5 separate regions of the Homo sapiens genome follow, and regions 2, 3, 4 and 5 are each linked to region 1. The links are contacts of gene promoters, found by promoter capture Hi-C in blood cells and fetal thymus (Javierre and others, 2016). All regions are on one chromosome and are shown on one strand. The core of a region is centred on a gene start or on the middle of the fragment in contact, and the rest is flanking DNA. Distances in the headings are between cores, read along the strand shown.

What was found. Contacts are between HindIII fragments. The CHiCAGO score rates a contact against its expected background, and 5 or more counts as called.
Region 2: a contact is called between a fragment that was not itself captured here and the fragment with the promoter of TAFA4 in region 1, in 1 of 17 cell types (M0 macrophages). The highest score is 6.2, in M0 macrophages.
Region 3: a contact is called between a fragment that was not itself captured here and the fragment with the promoter of TAFA4 in region 1, in 4 of 17 cell types (M2 macrophages, naive B cells, total CD4 T cells and 1 more). The highest score is 5.6, in M2 macrophages.
Region 4: a contact is called between a fragment that was not itself captured here and the fragment with the promoter of TAFA4 in region 1, in 1 of 17 cell types (M2 macrophages). The highest score is 5.4, in M2 macrophages.
Region 5: a fragment that was not itself captured here is called in contact with the fragment with the promoter of TAFA4 in region 1 in 1 of 17 cell types (M0 macrophages); the score reaches 5.2 in M0 macrophages.

The regions. Positions count from the first base shown.
Region 1 is chr3:68,931,171-68,933,918 of GRCh38, forward strand. TAFA4 (TAFA chemokine like family member 4) reads right to left here and starts at 1,377. Exons shown (of 6, transcript NM_182522.5): 1 at 1,070-1,377. The HindIII fragment of the contact is 2,333 bases long and covers 516-2,748 here.
Region 2 is chr3:67,400,547-67,403,294 of GRCh38, forward strand. SUCLG2 (succinate-CoA ligase GDP-forming subunit beta) reads right to left here. Exons shown (of 11, transcript NM_003848.4): 10 at 185-305. Among named protein-coding and RNA genes, the nearest start is that of MIR4272, 180 kb to the left of the region's middle. The HindIII fragment of the contact is 1,072 bases long and covers 898-1,969 here.
Region 3 is chr3:67,431,286-67,434,033 of GRCh38, forward strand. All of the region lies in intron 9 of SUCLG2 (succinate-CoA ligase GDP-forming subunit beta), which reads right to left. Among named protein-coding and RNA genes, the nearest start is that of MIR4272, 210 kb to the left of the region's middle. The HindIII fragment of the contact is 210 bases long and covers 1,316-1,525 here.
Region 4 is chr3:67,489,069-67,491,816 of GRCh38, forward strand. The region is part of intron 9 of SUCLG2 (succinate-CoA ligase GDP-forming subunit beta); the gene reads right to left. Among named protein-coding and RNA genes, the nearest start is that of SUCLG2, 160 kb to the right of the region's middle. The HindIII fragment of the contact is 7,549 bases long and covers 1-2,748 here.
Region 5 is chr3:67,701,532-67,704,279 of GRCh38, forward strand. The region is part of intron 3 of SUCLG2-DT (SUCLG2 divergent transcript); the gene reads left to right. Among named protein-coding and RNA genes, the nearest start is that of SUCLG2-DT, 48 kb to the left of the region's middle. The HindIII fragment of the contact is 1,866 bases long and covers 495-2,360 here.

The DNA.
Region 1 (2,748 bases), core at 127-2,626:
GGGATCGCCTGTCACATCACATCAACCTTGCTTGTCTCAGAGGGAAGACCATTGAAAAGTTAAAAGGGAAAAGAGTTCAGGGATAAAGACGTTAAACCAAAGGGGGGTCCCTGAATCTCGGTGACGGGGGATGGGCACCAGGCTAGGTCTCGGCGAGTCCGTGAACCCGTGCATGTACATACTGCTTAGGAGCTGATTCACAGCTTTACTAAGGCTCCGTGGAGCCCCTAAACGTTAAATGATGCTGATTCGAGAAGAAAACGCACCAGCGGCACTGTGTCTGGCTTGGGCAGCCTCACCAGGTGCAGGAGATCAAGCTTTCCAGTTCCAATCCTCTCCCGAGCTCCTTGCGTAGGGTCAAGGATGCCCTCTCTTCTAGGAGCGGATTAACAGGGCAAAGTGGGAAAAAGAGCGAAAGAAATGTAGAGATGCCACCTTGGTGGGCAAATCTGAGATGCCTCCCGCGGAAAGAGACGCAACTTCCAGACCCGCTCCAGTTCTCCACTTGGGCGGGAAGCTTTGCGCTCCCAGCTGGAAGACGCCTCCCGAGCGCTCGCTGCGCCCTTCAAGCAAGATCCTAGCAACCAGAGCTTCAGGGTGGGGGTGGGGGCGGGGGGACGCTGACCGGCTCCCACCTGCTTGCTCCTAGAAAGATCCTAGCTCAGATTAAAGGGATGAAGCGCTAAGGTCGACTTGTCCAGAAAAGAGCTCACGGTGAGTTCACCACCCCCTATACCAATTCATCGAGTGGCCTCCTCCGCATCAGCAGAGCACCCCCGGGGATTCTGTCAGACATGAACCCCGAAACTGGAAGCGGCCGCTGCCTCTCTCCAGCCACACATCCTTACTTCGGAGTGCCCCTTCCAACTTCGGGTTGCACGCCGACCTCAGCACAGGCACTCTCCCCGGCGCCCCAGAGAGCCGGGATGAGGGGAGCTGCACCGAGCTGAGTTAACTCGGTACCAGCCGAGAGGCAGCGGCTGCCCACGAGACAGCACCTAAATACAGGGTCCAAATCCACCCCCACCCCATCCTCTCGCCCCTCCTTATCCCTTCCAACCCTTCTTACTCGACTAGAGCCGGCATCCAAGTCGGACCGGCGCGTCCGGAACTAGGTACTGATCGCCGCACCGGAGCCCGAGGACGCTCACCGTGCCGCCTCCCCGCGGGAGCCCCGGGAGCGGCCCATCACCTCTGCAGCCTCGCCAGGAGAAGAAAAGTTCCCACGTCTCTACCAGGAGAAGCCCGAAGCTCCTGCGGGAGAAGCCTGAAGCTGCTGCTGGAGAAGCGGCAGCTGAGGCAGGACTCCCGATGTTTGCCCGCAGCCGCGCGCGCAGTCGGTGCGCCCCGTCCAGGGCGGCGCGCAGCTAGCAGTGCGGAGCCGAGCCCAGCTAGCGCGCTGACCAGGAGGGGCCGGGCCCGCCGCGGAACGCGCTGATTGGCCGGGCCGCCCGGCTGCTCCTGTCCCTGCCTGGCCCCGCGGTCCACGTGGGCCGGCCTTCTCCCCGCCCCGCACCCCTGCTCAGGCGGCGCGCCCCCACTGCCGGCCTCCAGGCGCCTCTCCCGAGCGCCTCGCTGTGGCCACCACTCCGCAGGTGCTGAGCAAAAGGTATTCTTCCTGAATACCTGAGAGTCGCGTTGAGCTCCACATAAGGAAGACGGATTTAGGGTTCGGCTCTCACTCGAAACCATTCTCCACGCAGGACCCAAAGCGGTTTGCAAGCAGGATTTCTTAGCCACCCCGTGCAGTAGCACATTCATGAACTAATCTGGCTTCGCGTGTAATGTGCTTGTATGAGAGAGGAGAAAACTCGGCCCACGTATGAATACCTAAATACTTTTCTTTTTTAATGTATAAAATACAGCTGGGGCCGGGCTCGGTTGCTCACGCCTGTAATCCCAGCACTTTGGGAGGCTGAGGCGGGTGGATCATGAGGTCGGGAGATCGAGACCATCCTGACTAACACGGTGAAACCCCGTCTCTACTAAAAATACAAAAATTAGCCAGGCGTGGTGGCGGGTGCTTGTAGTCCCAGCTACTCGGGAGGCTGAGGCAGGAGAATGGCGTGAACCGGGGAGGCGGAGCTTGCAGTGAGCCGAGATCGCACCACTGCACTCCAGCCTGGTCGACAGAGCGAGACTTCGTCTCAAAAAAAAAAAAAAAAAAAAAAAAAATTCAGCTAAGACTTCTTTGACTCCCTCCTCCCACCCCATTCCTAGTCATGCCCTCCACTCTTCCGCAAGTGAAGTAACTGATAATCAGTGTCACTTAATGGTATTCATTTTACTGGGATTAGTTCATCTGATCTCTATTTTATAGATGAGATAACTGAAGCACAGAGAAGTTAAATCGTTTACTGAAGATTACACAGGTAACTAGTAAATCCATGCTCTTTAGTATGCAAAGCATGGCGTCGTAGAGCGGTCCCTTGAGAACACTTTAGAACTGCAGACTTTCAGGCCCCACCCCAGAAGTAGAATCTTCATTTTAACAAGATGCCCAAGTGGCTGGTGCATGCATAAAGTTAGAAAACGTTGCTCTGTACCACTATGCTGCTCACTGTCATTGGCTTGGCTTATCATCTTCTGGTCCTTTTACTCTGCATTGACATACAATTATGTGCCATCCTGCCCCTGCTGCACTCCAAAGTATGTTCACCCTTCTCTGACTCTACCCCTTGAACTAACGTATGGCAGGCCTTCTGCTTCTGTTCCCCGTACCACACATACCATAGCACATTTTACTTG
Region 2 (2,748 bases), core at 184-2,683, 1.5 Mb before region 1:
GGAGAGCTAAAAGCCACATTAGTTTGCTAGAGGCCCAGGGAAGTCCTGCCGTACTGTGTTTGTTTCATCTTACACAATCTAGTGTTTCGTTCTGTTATCTCAGGAAGTTTGTGAATCCAGAACATGCTGGTCACCTGACCTTGGAGAAGGGGTGCTGGCACAGCGGAAATCTACCATGACTCACCTTCAAGCCGGACCACCAGGGGCACCTTGAGTTCTAGCTCCCGGCAGGCTTTGGTGATCCCATTGGCAATGATGGCACAGTTGACGATACCACCAAATATATTGACAAGGATGGCTTCAACCTGAAATCAAAAATAAAAAGTTACCAATCAAAATGCTGATCGCCAACAGTCTCAAAAATAACTGGTTAAATAATAGAGACAATTAAAATAAGACTGCTCGTTTTTTTGTTTTTGTTTTATACAGAGCATAAAATACAAAAATGGCCCAGAACATGTTAAGAAAGCTCATATTAGTAATAAATTAATAAATATCACAATATAACATTACCAAATTTTCCCATCAATCACTCTTTTCAACTCAAAATGAATTTAATCATCATTCATTCGTCTATTATATAATGTCTTCTTTTTCTGAAAATATTATTGTCTATTCTTTTTATGAGTAGTATCATTTAAAATTTCTTGCATTTAGGTTTTTTTCCTCCACGATTTACAATTGCCTTTTTATATGTCATGGTGCCTCACACAATATTTCAAAATCAGAAACCATTTATTGTTTTGTATTAAAAGGTAAAAAAGATTCAAATGTTTTCATGCTTCCTTAATACCTCTTTGATATGCTAGAGGTATGTTCTCAAAAATCAGAGATAGTTTAATTATCTTAGACAGCAACCTTTTGATTAAAAAAAGACTCTCGAAATAAAGAGATCCAAGCTTATAGCATAAGTAAGAATGTAAGGAAAGTCAAGCTACTGACTGGAGCTTCTTAGAAATGTAAATTTAAACCCATCACCCATCATGTTAACTTGTTTGTACATATTCCATATTCAAAGGCATGTGGGCCAAAAAAAAAAAAAAAACAAACTCTACTTGTCCTGACTTGATAACTAGGCATAAGAAAATCCTGTATAATTAACATGAAGAACGAGATAATGAAGAGAATTCATTACCTAGATTAATTGATAACACCCACAGAAAAATGGCTGTTCATGAAGCTGGAGGCATCAAAATTCCAACAGTAGAGTCACAATTAAATTATGCCACACTAATTGTAAAGCATATATATATGTGCTGCATAGAATCCTATTATTTCTGTCTGTTAAATTACCTACACCAAACATATGAGAAGAGAATATCTTACATTTGTATAGCATTTAAATGTTTAGAAAGTGCCATCACACAAATCCTTATTTTTTATTGTGAGCCTTCCCAGAACCCTATTTATTAGGTAGGGTGAAGGTTGGCTCTCTAGCTGAGAAAGCCATCGGGCGCATTGGGGCATGTTGTCCCAAGGTCACACAGCTGTCATGTGGCTGTGGCCAGGCCCAAAGCCAGCTCCCTAGATTGTCTACTGATTTGTTCATTGATGTTGTTGCTAGGGCTGGGACCTTGGTCGAGTTACAGAACCTCTCTTGAACATTTCCTCATCTGTATTATGGGAATAAAAAGAGGACCTAGCCCACAGGATGTTGAAAGGCCTAAATGAGGTAATACATGTGAAATGTTTACCACATGGCTTTAAATGTACTTAATGGGTATTTACACTTGCATTTATTCAGCAAGCATTGATGAAAGTGGGCAAGTAAGAAAACCTTTTTCAGTAGACTGCAGCTCATGTTGAATTCAAATATAATGGAAATACAAACTTATTGAAATTCAACAAAAAGGTAATGCCTTAAGAATCAAAGAAATGAACAATATTTTTCAAACCAATTAGAGATTGGGGCTACTCCCAGAAAAGAAATCTCCCATTACTATTCACAGTAGGACAACTGGTAAGCAGAAGCTTGCTTTCTAATGACAGCTATTAAATGCTGTTAGCATTGAGGCTTGGTACAGCAGTAGTTTCCAAATAACTGTAGGATGGAGAGGAACTTGCCAGAACAATAGAAGAAAAACATTCAAGAGCAAGAATGACTCCATGGGGTCCATGATAGAAACTCAGGACCTGCTGAGGCTCAGTAAGGTTTGTGCAGAGGAACTTGGCATTCTAGTAAAACACACATTGGCACCTGCATGCCTCTGCCATGTTCCAGTCTGCATATTCCTTAAGGACAAGTTCGGATGTCAACTTCTCAGGGAATTCTCATTAAATTAGAATCACTGACTCTGTTTAACCCATCTAAAGCTTTACGATCATTTTACAGAGTATAGTTTACATCATAATCTTATGTGAATTCACCTAAACAGGCAGGAGTGAGGGATAGGAGCAAAAAGGAGAGAAGGGGCTTGAGACCCTGTGATTCAATTCTACTTAGTGGGTGAGTGCCTGGAGTAAGTGTCAAACAGGAATCAGTGTTGCCTCAGGTGGCATCAGTTCCCATGAGTCTCTCATGTGTTAGTATCTCGTGTTTAATTAGAGTCCGATGTTAAAAATAGATACTCTTCATATAACCACTTGCGGTTAAAATTTAACTACTTTAGTTGGTGCTGAACCCCAGGAAAAGCCTTCTTTTCTAACTGCAGAGGGATAACTGGTTTTGTTAGACTTACTGAGAAATGAATAGCTGTTGTTCTCCAATGTACTTTATTCTCCTCTTACCTTCCTCTCCCCATCCCAAGA
Region 3 (2,748 bases), core at 171-2,670, 1.5 Mb before region 1:
AGGCTGGTTCAACATATGCAAATCAATAAATGTAATCCATCACATAAACAAAACTGATGACAAAAACCACATGATTATCTCAATAGATGCAGAAAAGGCCTTTGATAAAATTCAACACCCCTTCATGCTAAAAACTCTCAGTGAACTAGGTATTGATGTTTACTGTGACACTATTCACAATAGCAAAGACTTGGAACCAACCCAAATGTCCATCAATGATAGACTGGATTAAGAAAATGTGGCACATATACACCATGGAATACTATGCAGCCATAAAAAAGGTTGAGTTCATGTCCTTTGTAGGGACATGGATGAAGCTGGAAACCATCATTCTCAGCAAACTATCACAAGGACAGAAAACCAAACACCGCATGTTCTCACTCATAGGTGGGAACTGAACAATCAGAACACTTGGACACACGGTGGGGAACATCACACACCGGGGCATGTCGTGGGGTGGCGGGAGGGGGGAGGGATACCATTAGGAGATATACCTAATGTAAATGATGAGTTAATGGGTGCAGCAAGCCAACATGGCACATGTATACATGTAACAAACCTGCACGTTGTGCACATGTACCCTAGAACTTAAAGTATAATAAAATAATAAAAGAAAACCTAAGTTAAATACAAACAAATAATAATTACTTAGGGGTCAGCAGCTGGTGGCTCAATTGGGCACTGGAGACCATGTTTGTTCTCTTTGGGTGGTACATTGAGGGTGTCTAACCTTAAGAAATGCAGGAAGGGGATGATGGATGGTCTGTTCAGATTCCCTTTGTCCCAACTGCATTTTTCAGCTGTCAAGAGATACTGTTAGCAGGCACTAGATTTAACAATGGGAGGCTAGATGGGAGGCTAACTACCTTTTGAAGTACACGCCTGGCAGATGACAACCAGCATCTTTACTTTTAAACCCAGCAACAGTGGGTTGCTAGGCATTGTTTTGCTGGTTTATTAAACTTGTTTCAGTAAAGAAGCAGCAAGTAACTGGCTGCATATTATACTAGACTAAGAAGCTTTTTACAGACAGCAATTGGTCTTAGTAAATGCTGTATCCTGCAGGTCTAGGACAGTACTAGAGGTGATAATATTAATTTATGATCAACAAGGTCTGATTTGAAATACAAAGTCACATGCACTGGTGAAACCTTGGGCAAACAGCTGCGAAGGAAACTTTCTGTGGTCAACTATAAACGTTCCAGCTATACAATATTATATTCCAAATTTGTTGTTTATTTTTTATCTAATTTCTATCCTTATGCCTAGAGCTTCCTTTTTCTTTACACCTGGTAAAATCCTGCCTATCCTTAGAAGCTTCATTTAAGATTCTTCTTGTGACCTCTCCCGGCATAATTACCCTTCACATTCATCCAACATGGTGACCCCGATCTGCTAGGTTCTAAGCCTCCAGTTGTTACCATATGCCATCCCATTTTACCTTTCTGTCTTTTATATCCCTCTGGTTCTTCTATCAGAATATAGAGAGAATTATCAAATAATCACATTGTATGACTCGCTCTCAAGCTTTTGAATTTGCTGAAGGACGAAATGGAACCTTTGTTATTTCGGTTACCCTTTCACCTAGAAGGTCCTTCCGTAACACCACAGTCAGAATTTTAAAACGAAGAGGAACTCCATACTCTTTTATTGGATTGAATTAAATTGAAGGAATAACTAATTTCTCTCGAGCTTCCTGATCTTAAAATCCTCTGAATAGGTAAGAAATAAAGCTGAGATGGTATCTTGTTATGCTGTACTGTTCTCCCCTATGTTAGGGGAAAGGGTGTCTATTATTTGTCTTTTGGGTTTTTCCTCACTGTACTTCTGGGGGTTGGGGGAGGTTGCTGCTAGCCATTTCCTCTAGTAAAAGTTCAAAATAGCCCTTCTATAAAAGCTACCCCATAGAACACCACTTTATAACCATTTGAAAAACCCTAAAGTTGACCTCCAGGAGAAACCACTTCATATGGCTTCCCCAAACCCTGTTTAACAAGTTTTAAAATATTTAGCTGGAATGTTACTTCAAGCTAAATATGCTACTGGTTTATTTTTTCATTCCATTTACCAGTTGTGACCTCATCTGTGCTTGCAATTGGCTGAAAGGAACCAATTTTATTCAGGGAAACTTTCGGATGTGAGCCGTGATGCCCACTGAGGATAAAGATAGGAAGGTGCGCACGGTGGGTGTGGAAGGAGGGAGAATCCTTTCTAGAAGATGGGGGAGTGGGCCCAGATTCAAGTGACTGAGTGACCTTTCTTTTTGCTAGCTGCTGTGTGAGGAAAAAAGGCTATTTCTTCCTGCAGAGAACTGCGAAATGAGGTATAAACTGAGTAGCGAGGTAGATGAGCCTACCACATTAGCTGATTAATAAGCAAACTGCTCAAATGCCCAGAGGGATAGAGAGTTCCTAGCAGAATTAATAATAAATCCAGACATTGGGTGAATTAAATTTAAGGTGTAAAGACTAAACCAGGGTCATATTAGCTAGGAAGTATGAGGTGCGGGATTTAGTAAAAAAAAAAAAAAACTTATTTGCACAGAGATGCTTAGTTAGCCTAGCTCTACAAAAACATCTATAAAACACAGCTTTTTAACTGTTTTCTTGCTGGTTTAATAATTAGCTTAATTTCTGTTCACAAAAAATTGTAGTTAAAAAAAAGCTTTCAATACCTACGAGAACTCTGTCTAATTGAGCCATGAGGGCAAATCCAAGAGGCCACCACACATACACTAGAGGTTGACAA
Region 4 (2,748 bases), core at 85-2,584, 1.4 Mb before region 1:
GTGTTCTATTAGGGATGGTTTGAAAATGTGGTAGCTAGCAGATACACCGATCATGTGGAAGACACAAAACCAAATGCAGTCACCAGGACCCACTTATTACTGAGAAGTATTGGCAGGTAAAATGGAACAAATGTGAGGTGGGCAAGGAGGGCCAGATATTCTTGGAAATTTTAATTAACTAGACATCAGGAAAAGATATGCAAAAATCAACATTTATGAATTCCTCACACTGGGAAAACTACTGCCGGGGGAAAAAAGAAAAGGGCCCAGAGTGGTAGATGGTTTTCCATCCTCTAGCTTATGCAGAGTGACTTCCCTAAATAAAGAGCTATTCTAAGTGGAAGTGGAGACTAAATGACCAGCTGATCAACACAAAATTAATCATTCTCCACAGACTAGACTATCAGGTCGACTACCACTAGAAAGAATGGCTGCCTGGAATTTTAATCTTTTCCACTCTATATGAAAAAAATACATATTTTCAAGCAAACCTGCAAGAATAGAAATGCAGGGTAGTCATTTCAAAAATAATGCTTGTGTTGTATAAAGTATTGAGCACTATATTCGAAAATAAATTCCTACAAGAGTTCTACTTCCCTACAAAGAAAACAGTCGCTTGCAGATAAGGTATTTCAGCAAACACATGTGGTGTGTAATGAAATGGGTTTTGCTTTGTTACAATAAATTAAAATGGACACCAGACCTGAAGAATCTCTGAGCAGACAAAGCCAGTTAGGCCTCATAAGTGATCTTAACTCTGCTTGATTTGCAGACATAAACAAAACTTGAGCTATTTCTTGTAAATGCCTATGTTACAGAAAAATGAAACTTAAGGCTAACCAATTGGAAGCAGAAAGTTCTAGTTATCTAACTTATGGTTACATAACTAGAACTTTCCAGGAGGATAGACCAAATAAGGCAACAGTATAACTGTAACCAATCCAGTATTTTCTTTGCTTTACTTTCGTGTTTGCCCTATAAAAGTCTTCCCTTCACATTCTTTTGATGGAGCCCTGGAAGCACTTTTGGTTTGGAGCTGCTCAATCCGTGAATCACTGGTTATTCAAATCAACTCCTGACAATTTTACGGCACCTCAGTTTAAGTTTAAACAGCTCTGTGCCTCAGTTATACGCATGTATCTGAAAGAAAACAGGATATTCTTCTTTGTACTTAAATAAACTCTAAATGTGCAATAATTTAAAAATATGAGACAGCACAAGTGAATCCTAAAATATATTAAAACGTAAGGCATTTGCATATACCTGATTCTGAAAATATGGCATGCAGTTTTACTTCTCTGGCTTCACATTCTAAAGTTTCTGAAACATATACCATAGAGCACAAAAAGAGCTGGCCTCTTCTCAAATTTATAACAAATTATATTTTGTTCTTCTTTCAAACATGAATTTAATCCTCCCTTTATTAACTGTTTCCTTGGTTGTCTGAGTAGAGAATCATTGTAAGCTGAGTCACTTACACCTTCCATCAATTTCAAAACAACACATGAAGTAACACTGATTATCACTGAACCTGTATCAGACACCTCCCATTTCTGAGATGTGCATTTATTCTAAATCTAAGTTTTGGAAGTGATAATGGAATGAAACACTCAGAAAATATAAAAAGCCAAAGTTTTCACTATGCTTTAGAAAGGTTTGCAAGTTGGTACTTAAAACAATGCTTTAAGGTATTATTTTCATGTCTATAGATGAGGTAATACAAGTTTACAGAGTATATTCAAATGGCTAATAAATACATGAAAAGGTGCTCAACCTCATTAGTCATGACAGAAAGGCCATAATGAGATAATGCCTCATACTTACCTGAATGACTAAAATTGAAAAGACTAACCAGTAGCAAAAGTAAAGTAAAAGATAACAAATGCAAAAGAGTATACAGTACATGATTCCAGTGATATTAAGTTTAAAAATAGGTAAAACAAATCTGTGATATTAGAAATTACCTTTGAGGGCCGAACACAGTGGCTACTGCCTGTAACCCAAGCACTTTGGGAGGCCCAGGCGGGAGGACCCCTTGAGATCAGGAGTTTGAGACCAGCCTGCGCAACAAGGTAAACCCATCTCTACTAAAAATACAAAAATTAGCCGGGCATGGTGGCAGACGCCTTTAGTCCCAGCTACTCAGGAGGCTAAGTCAGAAGAAAAAAAAAAAAAAAAGAGAGAAAAGAAAAGAAATTACCTGTGGAGAGAAAGCAGGGTAGGAAAATGATGGGGACTGCATGAGGAGGAGGCTTCCAGGATCCCTGTTATGTTTTATTTCTTTTTCTTTTACTTTTTTTTTTTTTTTTTTTCCAGACGAAGTCTCGCTCTTGTCTCCCAGGCTGGAGTGCAATGGCACAATCTCGGCTCACTGCAACCTCCGCCTCCTGCGTTCAAGCAATTCTCCTGCCTCAGCCTCCCAAGTAGCTGGAATTATAGGTGCCTGCAACCACGCCTGGCTAATTTTTGCATTTTAAGTAGAGACGGGGTTTTACCATTTTGGCCAGGCTGCTCTTGAAATCCCGACCTTCTGCCCACTTCGGCCTCCCAAAGTGCTGAGATTACAGGCATGAGCCACCGCATCCAGCCATGTTCTATTTCTTGATCTGGCTGGAGGTTAGATGATATGTTCACTTTGTAATAATTCATCAAGCTGTATACTTAAAATTTGTATACTGTTCTGTATGGAGATTATACTTTAATAAGTTTATTAAATTTTTTAAATGATACTGTCATATGAAATTATTT
Region 5 (2,748 bases), core at 178-2,677, 1.2 Mb before region 1:
CACCTGTTTTGTAATTTCTTTACCCAGAAGGGCCCCTTTATGCAATTTCCATAGGGACATAGTATGTGCTAGTAACTGACCTTGTTGAATGGATGTATAAAGAAACAAGTGAATGAAGTTTCCCGTAATCCTCTACAGCTATTAATAATACAAAACAAATAATCAAAAAGACAAAAGAAGCCTTTTCACAAGACTAAAATCATCTAGTCCAGTTATCAAAACTGATCAAATTCGGCACTGCTCACCTTATATGCTATTCAACTTCTGTTTGACTAATTCTGTGAAGAATAAATCCTCACATTTGCATCTTAGGTTGGATAATTCTCTTGGCAGTGGTATCTGAATAGTATTATTTTGAATGCAAGCATTTTTTATGACTATGATTTTTTATATTGGGACTGTCTATCTTTCTGTCCTACACATTAGTGATACCTCTTGGACATTCTGTAGGGATACTGAAACGTGTCTACAAATGGTTCATGGTCTATTATGTAAGCTTCTTTGTGCTCAGTTGTAAAAAAGGATGGTCCTAAGGTCTTAATTATATGAGTCATTACAATTTTAAAAAATTCCTAGGTAGAAGTCAGGCTATTTAGTTGATTTAAAAATATTTTTGCTAGAATGGATTTCTTCTAGCATGTTGAAAATGCTGAATCCCATGTTGTAACACCTCACCAGAAATTATCAGTAGACCAGAAGGTAATGTTGATTATGATCTCATTTATTCATCCATTCATTCACACATTCATTTACTAAAAAATTACTTACATTTCTCCAGTGCTTAATGTAATGCTTAACATATAGTAGACAATGAATTTGTGTTGACTTGAATTTATTCATATATGCATTCTTTCATTCTCTTATCAATATTTATGGGGCTGCTACCTCAGGCCAGACATTATGTGATCAGTGCAGATACAGCTTCTTGGCCTGTGGAAGCATCACGCCAATCCCTGTCTTCATGTTCACATGTTGTTCACCCAGAGTATGTCTCTGGATCCAAACTGTATCTGCATTTTCTTTATCTGCGTTGATCACTAATGTAGTTCCAGGACTTAACATAATGCTTAAAATAATTGATATATTTTATAGTTCCCTCTCTGAATGACAGCAGGCTTTATGAGGCATTTAATGAGTGATTGTCAGTCCTGGCTGCACATTAGAACCACCTAAGGTGCCTCTTAAAAATACCAATACCTGGGGCTTAACCCAGACCAATTAAATCAACATCAGTGAAGGTGAGACCCAGGCATAGCTAATTTTTAAAGCTCCCCAGGATATTGTGAGCTCCACCCAACGTTGACAATTACTGAGTTATTCTGTGCCCTTTTTTTTTATGTCACTGGTTAATGTCACTTCTCTGGGTTGAATTATATCCCTCCAAGATTTATAGGTTGAAGTCCTAACCCCCAGTACCTCAGAATGTAATTACCTTGTAGAGGTAATCAAGTTAAAATAGGACATTAGAAGGAGTTCTAACTTATGTCCTTATAAAAAGAAGTTCGGATCCAGAGACACACACAGGATGAATGCCATGTGGACACAAAGACAGATATTGGGGTGATGCTACCACAGGCCAAGGAATACCAAGGCAAACCCGCAGAAGCCAGGAGAGAGGGACGGAACAGAGTCCTCCCTCGAAGTCTTCAGAAGGAATCAACCCTTGCAGTACACGTGTATTTTGGACTTGTAGCCTGCAGAATGATCAGAAAATAAATTTCCTTATTTATTTATTTTTTTTGTAGAGACAGGGTTTTAACATGTTGCCTAGGCAGGTCTTGAACTCTTGAGCTCAAGTGACCTGCCCTCCTCAGCCTCCCAAAGTGCTGGGATTACACTGCCCCTGGCCAATTTCTGTTTTTCGGGCTCCCTCCACCCCCGACCATGTGGCACTTTGTTATAGCAGCCCTAGTGAACAGTACAATCAGCGCCTTTATAAATGCGTTTTTTAAAGAGCTAACTTTAAAATGTTCTGCTTCCTTCAGTCCCCATTCCCTTCTGAAAATGGACCAACTCCCGTCTCTGAGCCCAGACCAGATGCTATCTCTCTACTTCTTCCAAGGTGGCCTTATCTTTACTAAGAGTCAGTGTTGAAACATGCATGACCAGCCCACCTGGAGCTAGAGACTTACAGGCTGACTCCATGATGAATAATCAATGTGCGATAATTCCACTTGCCAAGCAAAGCTCGGCGTAGACAGCGGCTGCTTCTGGCAGATCGATAAAGTACTTGAAGACACTTGTTTCAGTGGCTCTTTGAATTCCGCATCATCATTTGATTTGCTCCGATAACATTCAAGTCTTGCCTCTTTAAGTTATTGTTTTAGCAAATTCAATTTACAATTACTTTCCATATGAAAAGCTTAAGAGATTCAGTTTAATGCCTTATTAGCTGTAAAATCAACTGCTGTTTCAACTACGCGGTGTGAGGAGCAGTGAAAAGGCTTCGGTTCTTGGCGAAACTTTCCCTCTGGGCTTCTGACGAGGGGCAGCTTCTTCAGTTGTGGAGCTATCTTCACAATACCTGCTTTCTAAGCTCCTAGTCATTGGACCCAAATTCAAATTACATTTCCCTCCCGTGTCAGGGATTTCTGGGGTAAAAATAAGCTACTTTGAAGACAGGTTGCTCTCAGCAGGGATTTTTTGCTCATCAAATGTGATCCATGCAACAGGCACCTTTGAAAACTCACCATGACGCCGATTTTATTTTTAAATGGAGGGACTAAATGGCCATTACAGAAAGTCGGC